2 separate regions of the Homo sapiens genome follow, and region 1 is linked to region 2. Evidence: promoter capture Hi-C in 16 types of primary human blood cells and fetal thymus (Javierre and others, 2016). All regions are on one chromosome and are shown on one strand. The core of a region is centred on a gene start or on the middle of the fragment in contact, and the rest is flanking DNA. Distances in the headings are between cores, read along the strand shown.

Region 1 (3,828 bases), core at 300-2,799, 510 kb after region 2:
GTCAAGTGATCCACCCGCCTCAGCCTCCCAAAGTGCTGGGATTACAGGCGTGAGCCACTGTGCCCAGCCAATTTAGAGAGTATTTAGAATAATAGTTTTTAAAAAGACAAAGATTATGGAATCCTGGAAAATAATGATATTCAAGTAGCAAGTAGAAGAAGAGATGCCTTCCAAGGAAGCTGAGAGGGAATGCCCAAACAGATGAACCAAGAGAAAACAAAGTAGAATTACTGGCATATATTACAGAGAGGTCAAGTAGCAGGACAGAATAGTAAGAAGAAATTACTCCTTCATCAATATAACAAGTTTTTATTGAGTACCTATAATGTGCCAGACATTATTCTAGATGCTGGGAATAGAGAAGTGGAAAACACATACAACATCCCTTCCCTTTGGAGGCTATATTCTGTTAGGAAGAAGCCATCAACAAACAAGATAAATAATTAAAATACATAGCTGTGATAAGTAATATTTCTTACTGTGTATGTCACAGCTGTGTATGGCTATTTCTGTATGGTGATATAAATACACACACACACACATATATATATCTCCAATAAGCCATATGGAAATTTTATATATAATATATAAAACATATCTATATCTCCAATAAGCCATACAGAAATTTTATATATAATATATATTATATATAAGCACAAATGTATACATATATTTGTATGTGTATATACAAACGTGATACTCTTTGGTCTGTTGTTATATAATAAGATGAATTTGTGAAATACTGGCCCAGGGTCAAACAGTCTGGCTGGATTCAGAGAACAATTAGGAAGTCAAGGTTAGAGCTGTATCCAGAGCCAGTGTAGAGCCCAGGTCAAGGCCAGGGTTCATGTGTATAATGTGGAATGTATTTAGCTTCAATCTTTTCTCAGGTTAAGATTTAGTAAGTCTGTAGCTGTTTTTACAGGCCATTGTGGATTCAGGATCAGAAGACCATCAAACCAAGCTTAGGGTTAAGCCTGATAGCAATATTAGGCCCCAGATTTAGAGCCATGGTTCAGTCTGTGTCACAGATTAAAGTGCATTTCTGACCACTCTGGACTAACAGCAGCCTCAGGGTGTTAAAGCTCACTCTGAGGCTGCTGTAAGTCTAGAGTGGCCTGGTTTATGAAGTCAAGGTGCAAGATTTGGGTTCAAATTTTGGCCAGAATTAGGATTTAGTCTGTGTGTAGGAAGAGGCCTCATTCTAAAATTAGAGTTAGGGCTCAGTCTGTGGACCAGACTTAGACCACACCCAAGGTTAGGGCTCAGCTCAATGTTTGACTTTAGTTTTTGATCAATGTTGGAATCACTTTCATTTCTAGACTTGAAAGTCAATAAAGGCCAGGACCATGGCTCTGCCTGGGATTAGTCTTCATGCTGATGATGTTGCCTAGGAAAAAATGAAGTAAGAATATGAACAGGATTTATGTTCAGTCTTTCTTCAGGTTAAGTTTCAATTCGTATTCATGGTTAGAGTTTATTCTGGGTCCAATAATTAAGTCTCAGTCCGTGGCCAATGGTAAGGCACAGTCAATGTCTAATATTCAGTCTGTTGCCATGTTAGGACATTACCTGTCATGTGCCCTAGAGCCTTGTCTCAAACCAGAGTTAGCATTTCATATATGGACAAAATTATGATACAGTTTGTGGCCAGGATTTCAATGATGAATATGAACAGGATTTGGGATGCATATTTGGCTAGAGTAAGTTCAAGGTGTGGTTTCTGACTTTAGCCAGTGTCAGGATTCTGTCTTTGTCCATAGCTCATATCAACAATGTTCTATGGAGCTAACTCACAGTGGCCTGTGTTGGCCCTCATTCTGTGGCCAGAGCAGGGCTCAGTCGGTGACCTGTATTAGCCATTTCAATTTGACCACTATCAGAGTTGAGTCTGGAGGGAGTAATTCCACTATGACTTTATGTAGCATTTGTGTTCACTGAGTATTGGTGGTAGTGCTATCTGATTAAACTTGTACCAGAGTTTGGGAGTTACCAATAACCAAGGTAAGGCTTACTATGAAGAAGGTTTTAAGGCTAAGAGTGTAAACAGGTTTTTTGGATTAGCTGTTGATGTTATTTGTCAGTCAGTGGATAGAGTTGAGATGAGAACAAACAACACATAAAATCCAGATTGAAAGCTTTAGAGGCTCAGGCTGTAATCAGGGTTTTGGGATCAGGATGTTGCCAGGGTTTGAGTTCAGAGTGTTCATTGCCTGTTGTCAGTCTGGCACTTAGACTCTGGCTTAGTGTAGCAGGCATTTCGGTATCAGTAGTAGAGTTCAGTCTTTGCTAATTGTTAGTGACCATAATGTGCCCAGTGCCATGGGTACATCTATTCACAATTGAGGACTAAGTTTGTGACCAGACTGATTGCTCAACCTCCAGCTAGTGCTAGGACTCAGTTTGTGGCCACTAATACAGTGAACTTTGTTTATGGGTTTAAGACTTGATATGTGACAAAGGTGAGTACTTAGTCTCAGCCTGTTGTTAGATCTGATAATATGAGCAGGATTTTGATTTAGTCTTGTAGGGTCAGGAATCATTTCTCTAACCAGGCTTAGGGCTTGGCCTTTAGGTCTCAGACTGTGGTGGGACTTACAGTCTTCATCCCAGCTCAGTATTCAGAATGTGGCCAGGAAGAGGGCTCAGATCTTAGCCATGGTGAGTTCCGTCTGTGCTCAGGGTTAGAATTAAATCTGTTGCAGGGTTTTAGGCCAAGAAAATGAAAAGTATTTGTTTTGTCTTTGTCTAGTTTGTCCTTCATTCATCTTCAAGGTTTGGGTTCAGTCTCTGCCCAGTGCTGGTGAGCAGCTTAATTTCTGGTATTAGGAATCAGTCGGTAGCCAGGGTTAAAGTTAAAGTTGTGGTTGAAATTGGGATCCAGTCTCGGGTGAACATTTAGCCAGAGATAGGGTTCAGTCTATCTCAAAAATTCAGGATCAGTCATTAGCCATTTGGAGAAATCAGATTTATTTTCAGGTTGAAAGCTCATGTCAGAGGTTAGGCTTATGGGCTCAGTCTGTGATGAGAGTTAGGAATTCAGTCTATGGCTAGAGTTAGAGATGCAGTCTGTAACCAGTTAGAAGCTGTAAGGTTTAGGGGTCAAATCAGTGGCCAGTGATAGGGCTCAGTCTGTCCCAGGATCAGTAGATTATTTCCTGATCAGATTTATGAACCCAGTCTCTGTCCAGGTTTAGAACTTGGGCTTTGAACATGGTTAAGACTCAGTTTGTGGCCATGTTCAGGGTTCTGTCTATAGTCAGGATTAGGACATATGCTGTGGTCAAAATATTCTCAAGTTTTGTGGAAGATTTGGTTTCACTTCTTGGCCATGATTAAGGCACAGAGTTGGGACAAGTTTAGAGTCTGGTCTCTGTACATGTTTTCGTCTCTGTATGAGGCCAAGTTTAGTAGTCATTCTGTTGCCAATGTTGGGGTCATTTTCTGGTTAGTGCTAAGTCTGGGAAATTGTAGCTGGGTTGGTTTCCAAGATCAGATCTCAGGCTGTGACCAAGTTAGAGCCTCAGTCTGTAGTCAGGGCTAGAGCTCAGTTAGTATCTATGCTGAGCACTCATTTTGTGGTCAGTTCAGGATGTTAAGTATATCCCAGAGTTAGGTCATGCAGTCTGTAGCCTAGTTTAGAGACTCAGCCTGGGGACAGACTTAGGGGCTATATCTGATGTTATTTTTGATCCCTGTATCGTGAATTAAGGACTTATACAGTAGCCATAGTTATGGTTCAATAGGGGATCAGGGTTAGAGATTCAGGTTGGGACCAGTCTTAAGTACTTACTCTTGGGCCAGATGTAGACAGTCAGTATGTAACTA
Region 2 (4,218 bases), core at 907-3,406:
TTTGTTCTGGGGTTGCCAATTTTAGCTCCAAAAGTCAGAAGTCTCAGAAACCTCTCAGTTCCAGGAAAACTGGAGCAATATTCAGCTCTCTCACCTTCAGAATACCTCTGCTGAACCTACCAGCTGCATAGTAATAATAGCCTTCTCATGTTCTCAATCTAAATTGGTCTTATTCTACTCTTTTGCTCCAGCTTCTCTCGGAACACTGATGACTAATCCCCAGGTATAGTCTTAACTCTCTCATTTCACAGCCATTTGAAGAAGTCAGCAAGATAATGCTGCATGCTAGTTTACCACTCTGCAATGGCTACTTCAACCCACAACTAAGCAACCTGAGATTCCTAGGAGCAGATAAACCCCATGTGCAATCTGTCACTGTTTAGCTTTCATTGCCAAGATAATTTTACAAAGTTAATGAATAGCTGGGTTGGAATGGGGAGGGGGGAACAGACACAGAATGAATGAGGAGGAACTGTCATTGGTGGGCAGCCTCTGTTCTCCTTCTTGGCAGGACATTGGTTACATGGTGGGCCACTTGAGGGTACAGTTGTTATCATCATCAAAATGCTTTTATGAAGGACCTAATATCTGGTGCTCTGAGTTAGGCCGCACAGCTCTGGACTTTCACTTTTAGAACATCATAGTCCAAGAGCAGGTATTGATGTGGACACATGCAAAATGGATTCAAACTGTCAATATGGGTTAAATCACATATTATACATTAATAATCTCTTCCACTGGTTTCTAGATATTTCTGGTTGAAATCTATCAAGCAAATATATCTTGTCCCCTTAATTATAATATTAGCTCCTTGAAGGCAGAGGACCCACCCTGATACTCCTGTCTACAGACCTTAGCTGTACAGGACAAATCTAGATGTTCAGTAAGGACTGATTAAATCAACCTGACCTGACGGGTGCAGGTAGAGTACCTTTCAAGTTAATTTATTCCTTTGAGCCTCATTTCTTCCTCTACAAAATGAGGGTGGAAATTTTTTTTCTTTTCTTTCTTTTTTTTTTTAAATAAAAAGGAGTCTCACTCTGCTGCCCAGGCTAGAGTGCAGTGGTGCGATCTCAGCTCACTGCAATCTCTGCCTCCCAGGTTCAAGTGATTCTCCTGCCTCAGCCCCCTGAGTAGCTGAGATTACAGGCGTGTGACACCATGCCTGGCTAATTTTTGTATTTTTAGTAGAGACAGAGTTTCACCATCTTGGCCAGGCTGGTCTTGAACTCCCGACTTCAGGTGATCCACCCGTCTTAGCCTCCCAAAGTGTTGGGATGACAGGCATGAGCCACCACACTTGGCCCCCCTTTTTTTCCCTTTATTTTAGAGACAGGGTCTTGCTATGTTGCCCAGGATGGTCTCGAACTCCTGAGCTCAAGCAATCCTCCTACCTCAGCTTCCCAAAGTGCTGGGATTACAGGCTGAGCTGCTGTGCCCGGCTAGGGATTGTAATTTTCTCTGCTTTATTGGGTTGTTGTGAGGGTGGAGAGACAATACATGTAAATTGCTTAGTACATACTCTAGCATCGTATAGTACATCATCTGCTCAATTGTTAGCTATTAATTTAACAATATTAATTTCTGCCTCCTGCTCAACTAGGAGAGAGCCTATGGAAAAGAGTAAGTGCAGCAGTTCTCATGCAAATGTGTAGGTATTCGATTCAGCCTATAGAAGCACACTGGTCTGTTGCCTATGTATTGGGATAAGGACAACAGAAGATTTACCTTTTCACCTATCTTCTTCACTTTTCTGCCATGACAGGGATGCTTTGATGGGTCTGTGCTTTAGCAACTGACTAGGAGCGAAGGTCCAAGTGGGACTCTGGACTGGGAGCGAGGGCTGAGACTAAAGTCGCCACATCAGGCTGCTTGTTCCGTTCACTCAGCAAATATTTATAGCTAATCTAACCAGTTTCAGATATCGTTCAAGAGGTGGGGGTCCTGCAACAGCCCAGGCTTGTGCCTTTACCCCATTTCACAGAGAAGAAAAAGCGAAAAACTAGAGAAAAACCACCTCTCCAAGAGGTAACCGCACGCAGCGCGGAAGGCTGCTAGTGCGCAGGCGCCACGCCCCGGTACGCCCCGGCTCTTCCGGCGCGAGGTCACCGAATCGACTGGCCACTGGCGCCGGGGCCGCGCATGCGCTGCGCTGCCTTTCCCGGGCGCTGATTCCTGAGTGCTGAGCGCGAACCCGAGGAGATGAAGTAAGGCGTCAGCTTCCTTTTGAGGAAGGAGCAGCGGGCCACTGGGGGTGGTCCACCGGGACTGGTGTGGTAGAGCGTCTGCGGGGCCGAGGGGCGGGAGCGGCGCGGGGACTGGAACAGCTCGTCCCCTAGTTTTGCTCTTCCTCAGCTCCGGCCGGTTCGCACTTACTTGTCTGCTTTTCTGCCTACCCTCCCCACCCCCCCCGCCACCGTGAAGCCCTTTAACTAAGGTGAAGCTGATCAACGAGCTGAATGAACGAGAGGTCCAGCTTGGGGTGGCCGATAAGGTGTCCTGGCACTCCGAGTACAAGGACAGCGCCTGGATCTTCCTGGGTGAGGTCCACATCTTTCTTCCTCAGTGCTCTCCAGATTCTCCTGCTCGGTTTCCGACTATTTCGGCATTTTCACCCTTCACTCCTGCTTACATTCATCGCCCACCTTCATATCCATCTGCTGTCTGCCCGGGAATCCGTGTTACATCTCTTTTCTGCCCCATTTTTAGTTTTCCTTCCCTGCCAAATCAGTGCTCATGAGAGTTACTGTTTGCCATTTGCTGTGCTAAGGTTCAGGGACTGTTGTTATTTCTCTCTCACCCTCTGACCCATTATACTGCTGAGGAAATTGGGGTGCAGAGAAGTTAAGGGACTTCCTTAAGGTCACATAGCTAGTAAGCGCAACAGGCAGAACTATAGCATTCTAGAACTCTTGGTCTTAGCCACAGCTCCATATTGCTACCACCACCCTCCCCCATTCCCCTTCCCTTCCAGAATTCACTTTGCTCCTCTAGCTCCTGCTTTCTAGTCCATGGCCACGTTACCATTACTGTATTCACTTTATATCACAATCAGTAATTGTACAAGTTTGATGCTTCAAAGAGGTTATTGTACCAAACATTGTGCTAAGCACTTTATATACATCGTTTTATTTAACTCTTATAATAATCTTGCGAGTTACGTGCTAATATCCCCATCTTACAAATGAGGAAATAAATATTTGGAGGGGAAATTATTCCCTAGGAAATGCTTAACAGTGTCTTTATAACCTTTGTCTATGTGTAGGTGGGGTTAATCATGACATATGTAGACTGATTTTGTATCATAGCTGTAAATTTGTGGGTAATGAGCAGATGAATTCAACATGTTTGTGGAAGCAGAGGTTTGTGATGGAAACTATCTGCTTTGTCCATAGGATTTTGGGTGGCAGGAGGACTGAGTGATCAGATTAGTTTCGTTAGTGGTGACCCCGACTTCCACTCAAAATTAATTACTCCTTTTTCTGTACTACTGGCACCTTACATGTACTTCTGTCATTGAGTCAGACTTAATTTCTTTCTTTCTTTCTTTTTTTTGAGCTGGAGTTTCACTCTTGTCGCCCAGGCTGGAGTGCAATGGCACGATCTCGGCGCACTACAACCTCTGCCTCCTGGGTTCAAGCGAGTCTCCTGCTTCAGCCTCCTGAGTAGCTGGGATTACAGGTGCCCGCCACCTCACCTGGCTGATTTTTTTTTGTATTTTTAGTAGAGCCGGGGTTTCGCCATGTTGGACAGGCTGGTCTCGAACACCTGACCTCAGGTGATCCACCCTCCTCAGCCTCCCAAAGTGTTGGGATTACAGGCGTGAGCCACGGTGCCCAGCCCAGACTTGATTTCTTTAAGGGCAGGGCCTGTTGCTTACTGTTTCCACCCCTAGTGCCTGGCCTAGTGCGTGGTATGTAGTAAACACTTGGTAAATGTTGGTGGAACTGAAATGTGGTTTTCTCTTCTAGGAGGGCTTCCTTATGAACTGACTGAAGGGGACATCATCTGTGTGTTCTCACAGTAAGTGTCCTTTCATTTCCTGCCTCCTGAGTCGACAGAGTACTTTGTTTCTGTAATACATTTTGTGGCATCACAAAAACCACTTATTTTCACTCTAGGCTGAATGGCATCCCTGCATGGGGAGGGCTGGAGCTTCTGTTCTAGATCAGTCCCAGGACATGGTTCTAGAATGTTCTGTGGGAGATCCAAGAGGTT

Evidence for each region. The method cuts DNA at HindIII sites, captures the fragments that hold promoters and counts their contacts. A CHiCAGO score of 5 or more calls a contact.
Region 1: a fragment that was not itself captured here is called in contact with the fragment with the promoter of RBMX2 in region 2 in 5 of 17 cell types (M1 macrophages, endothelial precursors, erythroblasts and 2 more); the score reaches 9.0 in M1 macrophages.

What each region holds. Positions count from the first base shown.
Region 1 is chrX:130,906,184-130,910,011 of GRCh38, forward strand. No RefSeq gene overlaps it. Among named protein-coding and RNA genes, the nearest start is that of ENOX2, 4.9 kb to the left of the region's middle. The HindIII fragment of the contact is 1,174 bases long and covers 963-2,136 here.
Region 2 is chrX:130,399,831-130,404,048 of GRCh38, forward strand. It overlaps RBMX2 (RNA binding motif protein X-linked 2), which reads left to right and starts at 2,157. Exons shown (of 6, transcript NM_016024.4): 1 at 2,157-2,207; 2 at 2,425-2,540; 3 at 3,972-4,023. The coding sequence starts at 2,203. The HindIII fragment of the contact is 29,468 bases long and covers 1-4,218 here.